Regions from separate parts of the Homo sapiens genome. Here region 2 is linked to region 1. The links are contacts of gene promoters, found by promoter capture Hi-C in blood cells and fetal thymus (Javierre and others, 2016). All regions are on one chromosome and are shown on one strand. The core of a region is centred on a gene start or on the middle of the fragment in contact, and the rest is flanking DNA. Distances in the headings are between cores, read along the strand shown.

The links. The method cuts DNA at HindIII sites, captures the fragments that hold promoters and counts their contacts. A CHiCAGO score of 5 or more calls a contact.
Region 2: a contact is called between a fragment that was not itself captured here and the fragment with the promoter of NPTX1 in region 1, in 1 of 17 cell types (naive CD4 T cells). The highest score is 5.5, in naive CD4 T cells.

Annotation. Positions count from the first base shown.
Region 1 is chr17:80,472,476-80,480,362 of GRCh38, reverse strand. NPTX1 (neuronal pentraxin 1) reads left to right here and starts at 3,756. Exons shown (of 5, transcript NM_002522.4): 1 at 3,756-4,360; 2 at 4,645-4,852; 3 at 6,919-7,163. The coding sequence starts at 3,917. RefSeq lists an enhancer at 4,769-5,302. The HindIII fragment of the contact is 19,396 bases long and covers 1-7,887 here.
Region 2 is chr17:81,063,265-81,071,151 of GRCh38, reverse strand. The region is part of intron 3 of BAIAP2 (BAR/IMD domain containing adaptor protein 2); the gene reads right to left. Among named protein-coding and RNA genes, the nearest start is that of BAIAP2, 32 kb to the right of the region's middle. RefSeq lists enhancers at 6,002-6,608, 7,216-7,823. The HindIII fragment of the contact is 7,227 bases long and covers 1-6,236 here.

The DNA.
Region 1 (7,887 bases), core at 2,507-5,006:
GGCTAATTTTTGTATTTTTGTAGAGATGAGATTTTGCCATGTTGTCCAGGCTGGTGTCAAACTCCTGGGCTCAAGAGATCCACCCACCTCGGCCTCCCAAAGTGCTGGGATTCAAGGCGTGAGCCCCTGCACCCGGTCTGTCTAGTCTTCTTATGCCTGGCCACCCTCTCCATACTGGCCACTAACCAGGGCCTCTCCTGGACACCTGCCCCCTTTGCCTTCTCTACACTCCCCCTCCCACTACCAACTAACCTCTGCAGGCCTCTCCGTGCCCTTCCACCAGGAGTGAGCTGAGCCGGCCAGTACCCACTGATGGTGGCATTTGCAGGAATTTCACAGGTCGATGGTTAAACACAGCCACTATTACATTTTAAACTAAGTAAACTTATAATTAAATAAATTATATTTTAAATGGGCAATAAATACTACAAACTCATCACTTTCTAATTATTTTCTTACATTGAACTATTGTCTATCTTTTTTTTTTTTGAGACACAGTATTGCTCTGTCATCCAGGCTGGAGTGCAGTGGTTCGATCTCGGCTCACTGCAACCTCTGCCTCCCAGGTTCAGGTGATTCTCCTGCCTCAGCCTCTCAAGTAGCTGGGATTACAGATGTGTGCCACCACACCTGGTTAATTTTTGTATTTTTGGTAGAGACGGGGTTTCACCATGTTGGCCAGGCTGGTCTCAAACTCCTGACCTCATGTGATCCAGCTTGGCCTTCCAAAGTGCTGGGATTACAGGCGTGAGCCACTGCGCCCAGCCTTGTCTATGCTTTTGAGTTTTATTCACATCTATTGCACCGTTATGGTGGGAGTAGTATAATAAGTACTATTGTGCTAGGCCGGGCGCTGTGGCTTGCACCTGTAGTCCCAAGACCAAGGCAAGAGGAGTTCAACCATCTCTACGAAAAAAACAAAAAAAATTAGCTGAAGTGTGGTGGTGCAGGAAGCATCGCTTGAGCCCAAGAGGTCGAGGCTGCAGTTAGCTGTGATTGCGCCACCGCACTCCAGCCTAGGCAACAGAGCAAGACCCTGTCTCAAAAATAAAATAACAGTGTGCTAGTGTGCATGGTTTCCCAATGAGTGAGGTCGTGTCACAGGCAGCCACAAATGTACGCGGCTGGGAATATTACGGGATCGCCTCCCTCACCCCAGCTGCATCTGGGGTGTGGGACTCAGGCAGGGCCGGGATCACTGGCTGTTCACAACACCATCCCCCCTCTTCCGACCTAGTAACCAGACACCCCGATGAGTTTGGGCAGGGCGGCCCTTCGTTTTCCTGCTCCCTCCCTCTCAGATACTTTCAGAACACTGGGGAGGCCGAGGGAATCCTAAATACGACCCTCCGCTTGCCCAGGGTCTTGTGAAGGAGAAACGCGGCATGGTGGCCCTCGCGTGTGTGTGCAGCGCCTGCAGGTGTCCCGCCCAGCGCCTCCTGCACAACAGTTGCAGGCTGGACCCGAGGGTCTCCTCTCCTGGGGCCCCACAGTGCCCAGAGGTCCCGCTAGCCCCAGACACCGCCCCAGGCTCCCCTCCCTTTCTGACGCCGTCCACTCCCTTCCTCTGCGGAAGGGGGACACGCTCCTCTGTGCCGAGGTGCCAGGCCGCTGAGATCTGCTGCCCTGGAGGAAAAGCCAGGCAGGGTCCCTGGCCTTGGGCGGCTAGGAAGGCTCCACGGCTGCTGGGGATAGAGACGCGGGGCCAGGCTAAGGGTTCCCGCCCCGTCTAAACAGCCTGCCCTGGGCAGGGCAGGGCTCCTCTCCCGCGCCCGCGCGCTCTCGGCTGGGCACGGTCCGGCTCCAGGCCTGACGGGCGCGGCCTCCCCACTGGACGCGTGCGGGAGGGCGGCGAGGCCAAAGCGCTGGGGCCAGGAGGGCACCCGCCTAGCGGCTCCCTACGGGAGTTGGGGCAGAAGACGCCGCGACCCCGCGCGGGTAATTTCTCCCGAGGCGCGTTCCAGCCCGTGGCGCTGCCGGCGCAGACCCCGCGTGGGGACCGGCGAGGCTAACCCCTCCTGCGGCCCGGGGTCGGCAGAGCACGCAAGGGGCCGCGGGCCGCGTGGGTTTGGGCGCGCCGTGGTGGGCAAGCGGGGCCAGCGGAGCGGGAACCCGCACACCCTCCGAGCGGAGCCGAGGACAGGCCCGTGCGGGCCGCGGGGTCCCTCTGGCGCCAGGAAGCGGCGGCCGAAGGAGACAACGAGAACGCAGCCCCGGCTCAGGGAGGCTTAAAAGCTGAGATGCTGAACGCAGACGGCGGGCGCTCGGGGGCTGGGGGGCGGGTAGAGGCCGCCATTTCTCAAAAAGGTCTCCATCGAGCCGGCCTCTGCTCCCGCCCGAGGGGCGGACGCCCGATCCCGGCACCCGGGACTGCCCGTGGGTCCCTGCTGGCTGGGGACCCCCAGCCCCCGGCTGCGCGCAGGGAAAGGCTGCAGAACGCAGAGACCAGAGAAGCCGGGGGCGGCGGGGAGGGGTCGGGGGGCCACGGCTGTAGCCCGGCCCCGCAGTCTCGGAGCCTCAGTTTCCTTCTCTGTACCACGGGAGCGTGGACGGAGGGATTTCCGAGGCTTTGACCGCTCTGATAGCCCCGGGGCGGGGCGGGGCGGGGCGGCTGCGCCAGCCCTGGTCCTGAGCCCCCAGCCCGGCGCCGGAACCCGGACCGCGATCTCGGGAGCCGAGCCCCGCGGTCCAGATGAAGGCGCGAGTGCGCGGGTGCCGGGTGGGGTGTCTGAGCGAGAGCGGAGCTTCTCAGGTGGACGCCCCCAGCCACCTCCGGGACCCTTCCTGCTGGCCTTTGGGCCTGAGAAGTGGGCGCGGCTGGACAGACGGGAAACAGCCCCCCACGCACAGGTGGACACCCGGGGATACCGGGCGCGCGCGGCGCCTGGCAAGGGGAAGCTGCTGGAGACGCGGGCGGCTGCTCCCGCGGGGCCCCCTTCCGAAGCGCCGCTGCGAACGTCCAGCCCCGGCGACGCCGCCTGCCCGCGATCGGGCCGGCGCCGCGGACAGGAAAGGCTCGATCAGCTAGGTCTGCCTCCGAGAAGTCCCCAGCGCCCCGCCCGCACGGGGTGGGGACTGACAGTCCCCCGGGGACGGGGCCGGGTCCACAGAGCCCGGGAGCTGGGGGAGGGGAGGCGCCGGGGGCCCCGACCCGTGGGAAGTCCCTGTACCCAGGCTGCCCGGCGGCTTCTCAATAGCACACGGACATCTAAGAAACGCGGGGCGGCCCGGTGACCCCCGCTCTGGACTTAGTGGCGCCGCGAGGCCCCACTCCGAGCCGTTGACCACCGGGCACTCGGGTGTTGACGACCTGGGTCCTTGGGCACCCAGCCCGGCTCCAAACGACCCCGGCCCAAGGGTGTTCAGTGCAGCCAGGAGGGCCGAACCGAATTCTATCTCCCGGACGCGGTGGTTTCCCGCCCGCCTGGAGCCCCGTCGGAGGTTCGGGGACACCACGCAGGTGGTCCATCCTCGAGTCCGGGGCCGGAGCCCGACTTCCTTCCCCCTGAGCTCTCGGAGCCTTCGGGGCAGCAGCGCCGGCCCAGGCGGGGGCGGGGGAGGAGGGGGCCGCGGCAGCTCCCAGAAGGGCGGGGGGGACGCGAGCGGAGGCAGCCCCGGTGGCGCGCTCGTGAGACCCCCGCCGCGCCGCGGGCCCGGGCCGCGGACAATTAAAGCGGGATTCCTCCCCCGCTGACGTCGGCGGCTCGAGGCCCCTCCCGCGGCGGCATAAAAGGCGCGGGCTCCGCAGCGCAGGCGGCAGTGGGGGCCTGATAGCGCGGCGGTGTGGACCGCGCGGCCGAAGAGCGCGGCGCCCAGAGCGCGGGCCGCTCGCGGAGCCACAGCCCGAGCCGGGTCCCAGCCGGAGCCGAGCCCCAGCCGAGCCGAGCCGGGCCCGGAGCGCCCGGTGCCCGCAGCCATGCCGGCCGGCCGCGCCGCGCGCACCTGTGCGCTGCTCGCCCTCTGCCTCCTGGGCGCCGGGGCCCAGGATTTCGGGCCGACGCGCTTCATCTGCACCTCGGTGCCCGTGGACGCCGACATGTGCGCCGCGTCCGTGGCCGCCGGCGGCGCCGAGGAGCTCCGGAGCAGCGTGCTGCAGCTCCGCGAGACGGTGCTGCAGCAGAAGGAGACCATCCTGAGCCAGAAGGAGACCATCCGCGAGCTGACCGCCAAGCTGGGCCGCTGCGAGAGCCAGAGCACGCTGGACCCCGGAGCCGGCGAGGCCCGGGCGGGCGGCGGCCGCAAGCAGCCCGGCTCGGGCAAGAACACCATGGGCGACCTGTCCCGGACACCGGCCGCCGAGACGCTCAGCCAACTCGGGCAAACTTTGCAATCGCTCAAAACCCGCCTGGAGAACCTCGAGGTCCGCGCGCGCCCTCGGCTCCGGTTCCCCCTCCGGCTCGCTCGCCCCTCTGCCCTCCCCCACCCCGTTCCCTACCCGGCCAGGCATCCCCCGCCCTCGCCTCAGCCGCGCGGGTGCCCGGCCGGTGCCTCCCCGCGCCTGCGAGGCCCCGCGGCGGCCACTCGCCCCAGCTCCCTGCCAGGCCGCCCCCGCAGTCGCCCAGAGGGGACCGCGCCGCGGGCCTTCCAGCACGGTCCCCGCGCCTCGCCTAACGGTGTGGTTTCCCCCGCCCTTGCACCCCGCAGCAGTACAGCCGCCTCAATTCCTCCAGCCAGACCAACAGCCTCAAGGATCTGCTGCAGAGCAAGATCGATGAGCTGGAGAGGCAGGTGCTGTCCCGGGTGAACACCCTGGAGGAGGGCAAGGGGGGCCCCAGGAACGACACCGAGGAGAGGGTCAAGATCGAGACCGCCCTGACCTCCCTGCACCAGCGGATCAGCGAGCTCGAGAAAGGTACTGGGGCCAGGGGGAGCCGTGCTGCCTGCCTGCACCTGCTTGCCCGACCCTGCCTCGGTCCCGATCCCTAACAGCCCAGCTCTGCACTGTGCAAGCCTCAAGCCGCTCCGCTACCCCCAACCCCTGCACCGCTTTCTCATTCCCCGCACCCCTTCCCAGGTTCTGGGCTTCTAGTCGGTGTTTCTATCAGGGCTGGGTGCCTTGGGCTGGGGCTGTCTCTGGGAAAGGGGATTGCATAGTGCCCCCTCCCCCATCCAGACACACTCACACACTCGCTGGATTTTTCAAGTCTGATTTGTTTAATCCTCAGTAACTTTGCACAGTGGCTGTCGCTGGCTCAAACCCTCCCTGCTTAAGAAAGCCTGTCTCTCCCTGGTCCCCAGCCTCAGCGTACAGCTGGGTGCAGGCTGGGGCTGGGCGCTCTCGTTCCCCGGGCCGCTGAGGCTGTTAAGCAGGTTTCTTCCCGGCTGCCATGCCCCCGGTGTCCTCTCAGGATCTCCAGCTCCTCCCCACTTCTGTCCTGAACCCCTACCCTGAGGTTTTCTTTTCTGAGTGACCCAAGTCCTGGCATCTTTCAAATCCCTGAGGTTTCTCAGTCACCAACTCAGGCCAGCCAGTCTATCACCCAGGGCGCCTGGATGAGCGCTGGAGGCTCTGTCTTGAAGTCGCAGAAATCAAACAAGGTTGTAAAAGGGGAGGGGGGGGGGTGCCCGGTGCGGAGCAAGGCCACGTGACCCTGCTCAGACCGCAAAATGTGCCGGACAGATTTAAACAGTGCCATCTTAAGGCTTGTTATGTAACTGAAAAACAGATCAGAAGGAAGGACCTCAGGAGGGAGGGAGAGGGAAGGAGCGGAGATTGGGGAATGAAAAACACCCGGAGAAAGGCCAGGGGCTGGGCCCCTCCCTATCCCCCACTGCAGGCCTCAATGGGTTGGGGTAGCCGCTGGGGTGCTGCACTGAGGGGGCCTGCCCTGCTCTGCTCCCTGCCAGTTGGTTTAGAGGAGGGGGTGGTTGCTGACCGGGCAGGATGTCTTCTAGAAATAATTTTTGGCCTGGGGAACTGGTTTCTTTCTGGGCTTCCTGGCAGGACCACGGCTGCTCACCCAGGGATTGACCAAGGGGTGTGTGTTCCTGGGCTCTGGGCCTGCTACTGTGCCCATTGCTGGCCAGGAATGTTTTGCCTGGAGTCAGTCACACCATACCCAGGGTGCCACAGTATATAGATGGGCTATGGGGGTTGGCGCTTACGGGAGAAGTGGCCGGTGGGGAGGGAGAAGGTGGGCCTTGTGGAAAGGGAGGCCACCAGGCCTGGAACCTGAGCTGTGAGGACACTTACTCACCTGAGAGTGTGGCGGCATCCTAGAGCAGTCACCTTGGGGAGCCCTGGCGCCCAGAGTACTCCCAGCTCCTTGCTGCCCTGCCCTCTCAGCAGAGCTCCAGGCAGAGTCCCTGCTCCAAGGAAGGGCCTTGGAGGTGGGGAGCTGCCCAGCCTCACACCCAAGAGGCATTGGTGGGTCAGAGGCACATCTGGCCTGGAGGGAAGTGTGTGGGCACCAGGGCCTGGCTGTCGGGTGGGGAGAGGCAGGAGCAGAGCCTGGGATTGAGCGAGGAGAGGCTCTGAGCCCCGCCCCATCCTGGAATCAGGTCGGTTACTCTCAGGGTAGCTAGCCTCGTTCCTCCTCTGCAGCCACCCCTGCTCCTTGGGTTGACTTGGCTTGGCGGCTGTCCCCATTCCCTTCTCATGCCCACCACGCAGCCCAGTGTTGATGCAGCAGCCCACCAGGCACTGCCCCCCACCCCCATCTCCCCAAGGATGCCAGCACATGGGCGTGACAGCAGGCCAGACCTGGAGCATGAAGAGCTTGGGTCAGCTCTTTACAGACTGGCCCTGTGCCTTGGGGCAAAGTACTTGACCTGGGAAGCTACCCGCTCTGCGTCTCCAGAATGGAGACCGGAGCCTGCCCTGGCCACGCATCACAGAGCTTGGTGGGGACCGAACTCAACTCAGACACCGATAAGCACTTCACGCAGGTGCAGATGTCAGGACTGTGTCTTCCGCAGGTCAGAAAGACAACCGCCCTGGAGACAAGTTCCAGCTCACATTCCCACTGCGGACCAACTATATGTATGCCAAGGTGAAGAAGAGCCTGCCAGAGATGTACGCCTTCACTGTCTGCATGTGGCTCAAGTCCAGCGCCACGCCAGGTGTGGGCACGCCCTTCTCCTACGCTGTGCCCGGCCAGGCCAACGAGCTGGTCCTCATTGAGTGGGGCAACAACCCCATGGAGATCCTCATCAATGACAAGGTAGAGCAGCCCCCGGGCTCACAGGGCGGCAGGGCGAGGCCCCAGGGCCCCAGCTCATGTTGCATGCGGAGACAGGGCTATGGTGGCCTCAGATGTTGATGGGGCCCCAAGGAAAGTGTTTGCCAGGTGGGACTGAGGGAGGGGGAGGGTGAAGACCAGGAGAAGTGGTAGGAGCCCCCTCACCTGTACTGGGAGAGCAGGGAGAGCTGGACCTTCCCGGATGCCTCCTGGGGTGGGTACGGGAGATGGCGGAGAACGAGCCATGGGGCCTGGCCCTGCCCGATGATGTGATCTGGACTCCTCCACCAGCTGGCCTTGGAACTGGCTTTGCCCCTCCATAGCAGGGACCCAGAGATGCTCTAGCGGGGTGAGGGGTCCTTAGAGATTTTTCCTGAGTCCAAGTCTATCCCACTCAGCCCCCTAACTCTCGGGAGGAGGACAGGTCTGTGTGATCCCTTGGAACAGGACAGCACAGGCAGCCTTTCCCTCTAGTGAACATTCTCCATCCTCCCCTGTTAGCTATGGAACTAGCTGCCAGCTTTCAAACTGTCTCAAGTCCAGGCCAGCAGTGGTAGTCAATGGCTAAAACCTGGGCTGGGAAGTGGATTCCACGCCCTTGTTCCTGTTGCTCTTCCCCACAAAGGGCTGTGCCATTCTGGGCCCCCTTTCCCCAAGCGGAAAGGGTGTGAAGTTTCTTTCCTCACTGTCTGCTGGACCGTCATCC
Region 2 (7,887 bases), core at 1,374-3,873, 590 kb before region 1:
AGGCAAAAATGGAATGTGGCCAGCGGGTAACCAATGGGGGAAAAAAAAAAAATCAATGTCTGTGTTGCCATGGTGATGACGGTAGCTGACGCTGCTTCCCCACACACAGTTCTGAAACCAAGCAAGTCCAAAGAGCCACCTTGGTGTCAAGGCTGGGTCAGCATTCAGATCTTGGACATGGGGGTGGAGGGAGAGCAGAGGCCGAGGCTGCCTTCTGTCATCCACCCCCACTGTCCTGAGCCACCACTCCAACCCGCCGGCTCCAAGGATGGGCCCTGGACCAGCAACGCACCATCACGCTGGGATCAAGGACCCTCAGGCCTGCCCGGGCCTCTGGCACCAAATCTGCTCACACACTCCCAGCGTCCCAGGCAGACGGGGGCTCCCGGGTCAGCGGCCATCCACCCGGGGTGGCTGGAGTGGAGGCTGCAGAGGGCCCCTACGTGACACACAGGGGTGGAGATGAGGCTCTGCGGGGGCTGAGCTAACCCGACACCTTCTCCCCACGGGTTGAGCGACCTGGCCAAGCCCAGCTCCCACAGCTGCAGCGGGACAGGCACGCCAGGGCCTTCTCCTGCCCCCGCGTCCACTAGGAACCCCTCTGCAGCAACCCTCCCTGTGCCTCTCTCCTCCCTCCAAAGCACCTTTTGCCTCTTCCTTTGCCCAGTGTCCGCAAGGAGGTTTAAGGTCTGACGGGGCAGAGGGGTTTCTTTCCACATTTCCACCTCCCTTTTGGCCACAAGTGACCAAGGTTGCCCGGCAGAGCACATTCAATACCCAGCCCGAAGGCTGCCTGGACGTCCGCTCAGTGTGGAGGGCAGACCCAGGCCACAGCTTGGAGCAGGGCCTGTTCCTTTCTTCATGGGCAAATTTGCCTTGCAAGACCAACCTCTGGCCAGGCACGGTGGCTCGCGCCTGTAATCCCAGCACTTTGGGAGGCCGAGATAGGAGGATCACTTGAGTCCAGGAGTTCGAGACCAGCCTGGGCAACAAAGCAAGCTCTTGTCTCTACAAAAAGTTTAGAAAGTATACAGGCGTGACAGCACACACCTGTAGTCCTGGCTACTCAGAAGCTGAGGTGGGAGGATCGCTTGAGCCCAGGAGGCTGCAATGAGCTATGTATGACTGCGCCACCACACTCTAGCCTGAGTGACAGAGTGAGACTCTGTCTCCAAAAAGGGGGAAAAGACAACAACAACAACAAAAAACCAAGAAAACAAAAAACCCTCCAATCTTCCTGGGTACAACAAGTGCATCTCCAAAGACCCTGGTCACCTCTGCTGCCTGTTCAGGTCCCACGGCACAGCATCCTCCCAAGGTGCCCTGGGCATGGCTCCCACGTGACCGGCGAGACCAGAGGTGTCCACCGAGGAAGGCTGGGAGGCGAACTGAACCTTGCCTAGGAACGTACTGGCCAGACTGAGCTCGTGAGTGGACAGTCCTGGCGGGGGAGAGTCCCCCGAGTGGGCAGAGGGAGCTGCCATGGATGGAGAACCACGCCCCCCGCCAGGCTTTTCCAGGGGCCTCGCAGACTACACCTCCCGAAAAGGAAGGGGCTACTGCAGAGGCAGGGAACAGACTCGAGAACTCCCAGCAGGCGTCCTTGAAGCCAGCCCTGGACCCCAGCTGCCCAGAGTCCCATGGCATGAGCGGGGGCCGCCGAGAAGCCAGGTGGGCAGTTCAGACCGGCCGCCCCGTGGACCACTCCCCAGCCTCTCTGACCACCTTGCCAGGGGCCACTCTCCCTGTCACCCCTCCAGCACTCCATGGAGATGGCATGAGCGCCGCCCCTCGGTACTTGGATCCAGGACTATCTGTGCCCGCGTGCGTGCTCTGGCTGGGTGTGTGCACGTGTTCAGTCTCTGCCCGGGACACAGTCCAGTTGGCCCTGCAGTGATGTGACCGCCTGCATGTGACTGCTGGTAACAATTACAAAAATGCTTCCAATGTATAAACTGTACCTAGGAGACCGTCACGAATGCCCGTGGACCCACCATTCGGAGCTACCAGAAGTTGATGCTCTGCCGTTTGCCCTTCAGACGTTTAAACAAACAAGCACAGTGGGGACAGCCGGAGGACCCAGCGCATCCTTCTAAGCCCAGCCCCTGCCACCGGGATCACCCCTGGGGCTGCTGAGACCCTGTCCTGTCTGTTTCTACGGGGCCCAGTGCCAGACAAGTCGTCAAATGTGTGACTGGGGAGTGGAGGAGCCTGGAGCAGCTGGAGCTCGGCAGCGGGCACACAGGAGCATGTCTGGGACAACGGTCACAGACACTGTGGGCAAGGGAACCCACTGGCACCTCCCACAGCCAGGAACGCAAGGCTGGACAGAGACACTGGCAACCAGATATGGCCCCCCATCCTGAGAAAGACACCTCCCTGGGACCGGAGTCCCCCCAGGCCCTCCCGCAGGACTTCATGTCACAACCAAGGAGCCACCGAGGTGGCCTTCTCTGCAGTACCAGGCTTGGGGGCACCCTCCCCAGGGCAGGGAAGCGGGGACAGGGGACACAAGAGCGGAGCCACCTGAGACGGGCTCCAGTGCTGGCTCCGTCTGTGCGGCTGCTGACTGCGGGGTCCTTGGGTCGTGGGCTTTGTTTCACACTGATCCTGGGGTCAGGGATTCAGGAGCGGCTTCTGGTTTGGGCCCTGCATCGCTGCCCTCCTACAGCTGGGGCCAAAAGAACACCCGTGACCCGGATGGCACTGACCAGGGTCCTGGCCTCCGGGGACAGACCCCCTCAGACAGCTGCTCTGCAGGGGACAGAAGCCATTCAGACCTCCAGTTCCTCACGCGTGCCCGAGGGGGAGACCCCTGCCATGGGCGTGGTCTGCTCCTAACCAGCCTCGCCTATCTGTGCTCACTGATTATTGACCAGGAGGGAACATTGCTCCTGGGAGAGAGTTTCTCAGCCACTGACTCGCTCCAAACCCTACAAGATGCAAACAGGAGCAGAGGCCGCCCTGAGAGCACCGGCCGTCATCTCCCTGCGTGGCTGCGACCAGTGTCTGCCAGGCCTGACGTGCCCACCCTTCTGCCAACTGGCACCACCCAAAGTGCATGGGACCCACGTCCCCCAGGACCCCAGAGATGCAGACACCTGCCCACAGAGGCTCCTGAGCCGGCACCTGTGCCCCCAGGCCCCTCGGCCTGCGGCCAACACTGTGTGGGGCCACATCGGAGGCAGCCAGCACCTCAGCAGCTCCTGGCTTGAGGAGGAAGGCTGAGCGGCTCCTCTCTTTCCCTCCCTAGGGAGCACTGGTGACAGTACCGAGGGACGGCAGGTGCCATCAGCTGTGCCCCAACCGGGGGACAGGCAGCCCCGGCATCTCAGGGGAGAGACCAGCTGTCCTCCCTGCTCTGGCCGGCTGAGGCCTGACGCTGTGGCGTGAGCGCTCAGGGAGGGTGCCTCCCCGCTGCGATGCTGGGCCAAAGGGAGCAGCAGCAACGCCGGCAGAGGACACCTGGCCGGGCCTCAGAGCCTCTTGCTGAGTGAGACTCCAGCAGCCCCTCTGTGGGTGACGCTCGGAGCTACTGATCACCAGCAGGAAACGGCTCAGGATCAAACCACGAGCAGCCAGACCAGGGGCCCACACTTGGCTGCCGCGGCTGCAACACGGCCAATCCAATCAGGACGGCTGCTAATCTCCCTGCAGAGCTCAGCCTGCACCGCAAAGCTGTTGGCAGGCGGGCAGGGCTGGGCCATCCCCAGCCACAGCCAGAGGGGAACAAGGCCCTCCACCCGCCCACCATGAGGCCCCCCCGCCCCCTTCCCCTGCTCAGGTGCTGGAGGGTCCCCACAGAGTTCAGCAGGAGCACGCGCCTCTGCGAACAGGCGGTGGGGGCCTGAAAGATCCCCATGGGGCGGGAGGCAGGGCCCAGGGCAGCGTCCTTCCCAAGCATCCTGGTGGCTTCTTCAGGTGGCTGTCTCTGGAGCACCCCTGCCGGAGTCCTACTGTAGGGAGGGAGGAATAGTGTGGGGGGGAAGGGAGGTACAGGCAGGTCGGAGCAAGCGGTTGGGCTCTGGAAGGGAAGCCCCCAGGCTGGGCTTGGGCCAGGGGCATCTCGCTTCCCTCTCATCTGCAGGCGCCGCTGTGCTGGAGGTCCGGGACCAACCAGGGACCTCCGTGTCAGGCCCCCTCGGGGATGTAAGGTTGATCTAATTAAGGCCTTCAAATGGTGTCTGTCAGGAAGACTTGGCAGCCTACAAGGCAAGGCCCTGCCGTGAGGGCCTGAAAGCAGGTGTCATGCCCATACACTGCTGTCACAGTCACTGGCCCAAAGGGAGGCTGCGGCCTCCACCTGCAGGAGGAGGCTGGGACACATGGGCCCCTGGGTGCACTGTGCATGGAGCCGCCTGAGCCCAGAGGGGCCGTGACACAGCCTGGCCTCACAGAGAGCAGGAGGCCCTACCAGGTGAGTGACATGAGATGGTGCTTCCGAGCCACTTTGGCCAACGGGAGCCACTGGGGACAGCCCCGAAGTCCCCTTGGGGTTCACATGACCAAGGACCTTCCCTTCTGCACAGGGCCCCACGTTTCAGAGACGCAGAGATGCCGCACACACGGAGGGAGCCACTCAGTGCCTCTAAGAGGGAGGCCGACACCTGCGGGGACAGGAGGGGCACCACCTGACCTGTGGGGGCCCCAGGCCCCAGCTCTCCCAGGTGGGCATTCAGAACACCTGCCTCACTCTGGACAACGAGGCGTGCACTGCAGCCAACAGCTATGGGAAGTTTCCAGGCCACACCTTAATTCAGTGACTCAGTGACCAAAATCCAGCCCACAGTTTCAGGCAGGGACAATGCCCCCTGCCAGCTAACATCCTCATTCTGAGGCTGGCCCAACAGGGAGCTCCTGCCACTCTCCCGGGCACCTGGGGATGCCGGGCAGCTGGCAGAGGACAGGCCCAGTGCGCCCAGCAGGTACACACACGCCCTGTGATCACAAACAAGCATGCTGTGGGCACCAGCGGGTACACAGCGGCCTCTTCAAAGGACAAAAACACACCAGAGGCCTCCAGAGATGGGAAAGGGCTGAGCAAAACAGCCTGGCTCAGGTGTTCCGTGGCAGGGCCACAGAGCAGTTGGACAAGAAACACAACAGGCTCAGGGCCCCAGATAGACAGGCTGGACATGCGGGTCTGACCACACAAAGGAAGTGCAGTGCTCTCTGCTGGGGAGGGCTGCGGCCCCGCTCACTGCAATGACAGCCCCCCTCACTGAAGACAGGGCACCGTCCTGAAGAGCCGACAACTCTCTACAGGGTGATTAGACCTTAGCCTCCCTGCACAGCCAGGCCAAAGGGCAGCTACGTGACCCTCTTTTCATACAGACGGTTCTGGCACACAGTGCTAGAGCCACCTGCCCAGGTGTACACGTTGTACCAGGACCCCAGGTCACTGGGACTCTGGCCTGCTCCTCCCATCTGCCTCTCCCGTTGGCCAGCATAGACCCAGGCTCAGCCCAGCTCTGTGCGCCCAGCCTCGGGTGGGGGAGCGAGAGGGCCTGGGCCATAGGCAGCTGTCAGCAGCAAGGGGGTGGAGGGGTGTGCTCAGGAGTGCAGTCACAGGACACTGCAAACCACAGCTGTCGGTGAGGCAGACTGGACAGCTGTCCTCCACCCGCACAAAGAACCAGTGCCACGTCCACCCAGGCACCCACACGGCCCAGCGGCATGGTGAGCACCTGCCCTGCCCTCCACCCTTGGGTCTCCACACCAGCCCCTGGTGGTGCCAGCCTCCAGGGAGGTGCCCAAAACAGAGGAGGAGCCACTCACACATCTTAGCAAATTCCCCAGATTCCTGAGGCTCTCAGCTCAGGACCCTGGACCCCTGCAGGGGGCCGGGACGGGCACAGCACTGCTTCTGTGACCAGGCTGGGCCCGCCCTCCCTCGGGTCACCTGCCAGGCTTGCTCCTGGGCCACAGGGACACTGAGTGTCTACACATGCCAGGACTGGCCTACAGGACTCAGATCCAGCCGGCCACTCCAGTCTCCCCGAGCTGCCAGTCAACCCAAGCACAAAGCCCAAGAGGATGAGGAGCAGACGCCCCTGGGAAAAGTCTAACCCAGGCACTGGCTCAGGGGCTTTGAGAGCAGTGGGTGTGCCCCGGAATCACGCCTGCCGGAGCTGGAAGGGAGAAACACCATGGCGGGGATTGGAAAACCAGTCAGCCAGCAGACAGCCAAGTGTGGGTGGCTGCCGGCTAGGGGATTAGAAGGGCTGTGAGAAGCTTCCGGAACTTGGAGCTGCCACTCCATTCCCTGACTAAGCGCTTGCCATATCAAAGCAAAGCCCTGAGAGTTAACTGCAGAAACTCTTTCACTGCAGGGAAAAAACAGTCTCTGACTGAAGACGGGAGGCCCTTCCGTCTGTGAGGTCTGCAGGCCACAAAGCCCGAGGCTGCCTCCCCAGCTGTGTGCCAGACGGCCAGAGCCACAGGTACAGAAAGACCCACATCACCAAAGGCCGGCTCTGACCCAGCCACTCCTCACTCCAGGAGAGAGAACAAAGGGGCAGCCCCAGCTGCTCATTTAAAGCAAAAAAAGACTCTCTGGGCTTTCACCCCTGGGCCAGGCTCTGGTTCAGAAGCATGAAAGCTCACGCAGGCCAAGGCTGGCTCCCGGCTCCGGAGACCTGGGGCTCACTTGGAGCAGCACGCTTGGCTACAGTGAGGGGGTGCTGCCAGGACCCTCACTCTTCCCAGGAAGAACAGAGCTCAGGGCTCTGCAGGGAAAGGGGGAGCGGGCAGCATCATCCACAGTGATTAGCCGGGAGTCAGTGCAGCCGAATCCTCGTCATCCTGACGGGGCTGAAGACAGGACCTCCCCGTGAGGGCTACATAGCCCGAGGCCACCTCCCCGGCTGTGGGCACTACAGGGCCAGAGGTGCAGGTACAGAGAGACCCACAGGACTAAAGGCAGACTGCCCTGTGAGTAGAGCAGGTGCCACATGGGAAAGAAAAGGTGCGAAGAATGAAAGTGGGGAAGGAATGAGAAGAGGAGGAAGAAGGGCAGCCAGGGTTGGCACCACTGCTTGCCTGGCAACCCTGGCCCCATATGGCCACAAGGCCACACCCAGAGGGGCCCGGGTGGGAGGCCAGCAGAGAGAGGACAGGCTGGGGCCCTGCTCGGCCGGGTGTCAGGACCAAATCACTGAAAACCACCTCCCGGCCAAGCAAGGGGCTGGTCTGAGCTGAGCACCTCCACCCCAGCACAGACCAGGGCTCTGCCTTCCTGGGAGGGGCTCCACCCACTGAGGGCCTGGCTCATTCCCAGAGAGCAGGGACAGCACCTTCCATCCTCCCATCCTGGGGCAGCAAGGACAGCTGGAGGAGAAGGTGACCAGAAATGAGCAACGTCCCCGGGGCTGAAGAGGAAGAACAGGAAACAAACTCAACACCCAACCAAACGAACCAAAAATAAGACTGTTCAGGGCCAGAGCAAGCCACCTTGCGATAATAGGGCTCAGCTCAGGAAGGCACACCCACACACACGCACTTAATAACACAGCCTGCAAACACAGAAAGCAAAACTCCCAGGGCAACTGCTGAGCCCCCGGCCTGGGGAGTGAGACGAACGCCTCCTTCACTTACTGCCCAAGTGGCTGCCGCACAACCCCACGGGGCCTTGTGGAATTCATCCCGCAGGAGAGCTCAGCCTCAGGGCCCCTTGGGCCTCGAGCTCATCCAGAAAAACTCACCAGGGGTAACTCAACTGCTCACCGAGGAGGACAGAGAAACTGTTACACGTTTATGGAATATTCTACAGCAGTGAAAACGAAGGCATCCGCGTGTGGCAAGAACACAGATGACAGATGGACCCTAAGACACAGTGAGAAAGGCAGGTTGCACAAATCCATCTTCCTGTGGCACCAAGCCTGGAAT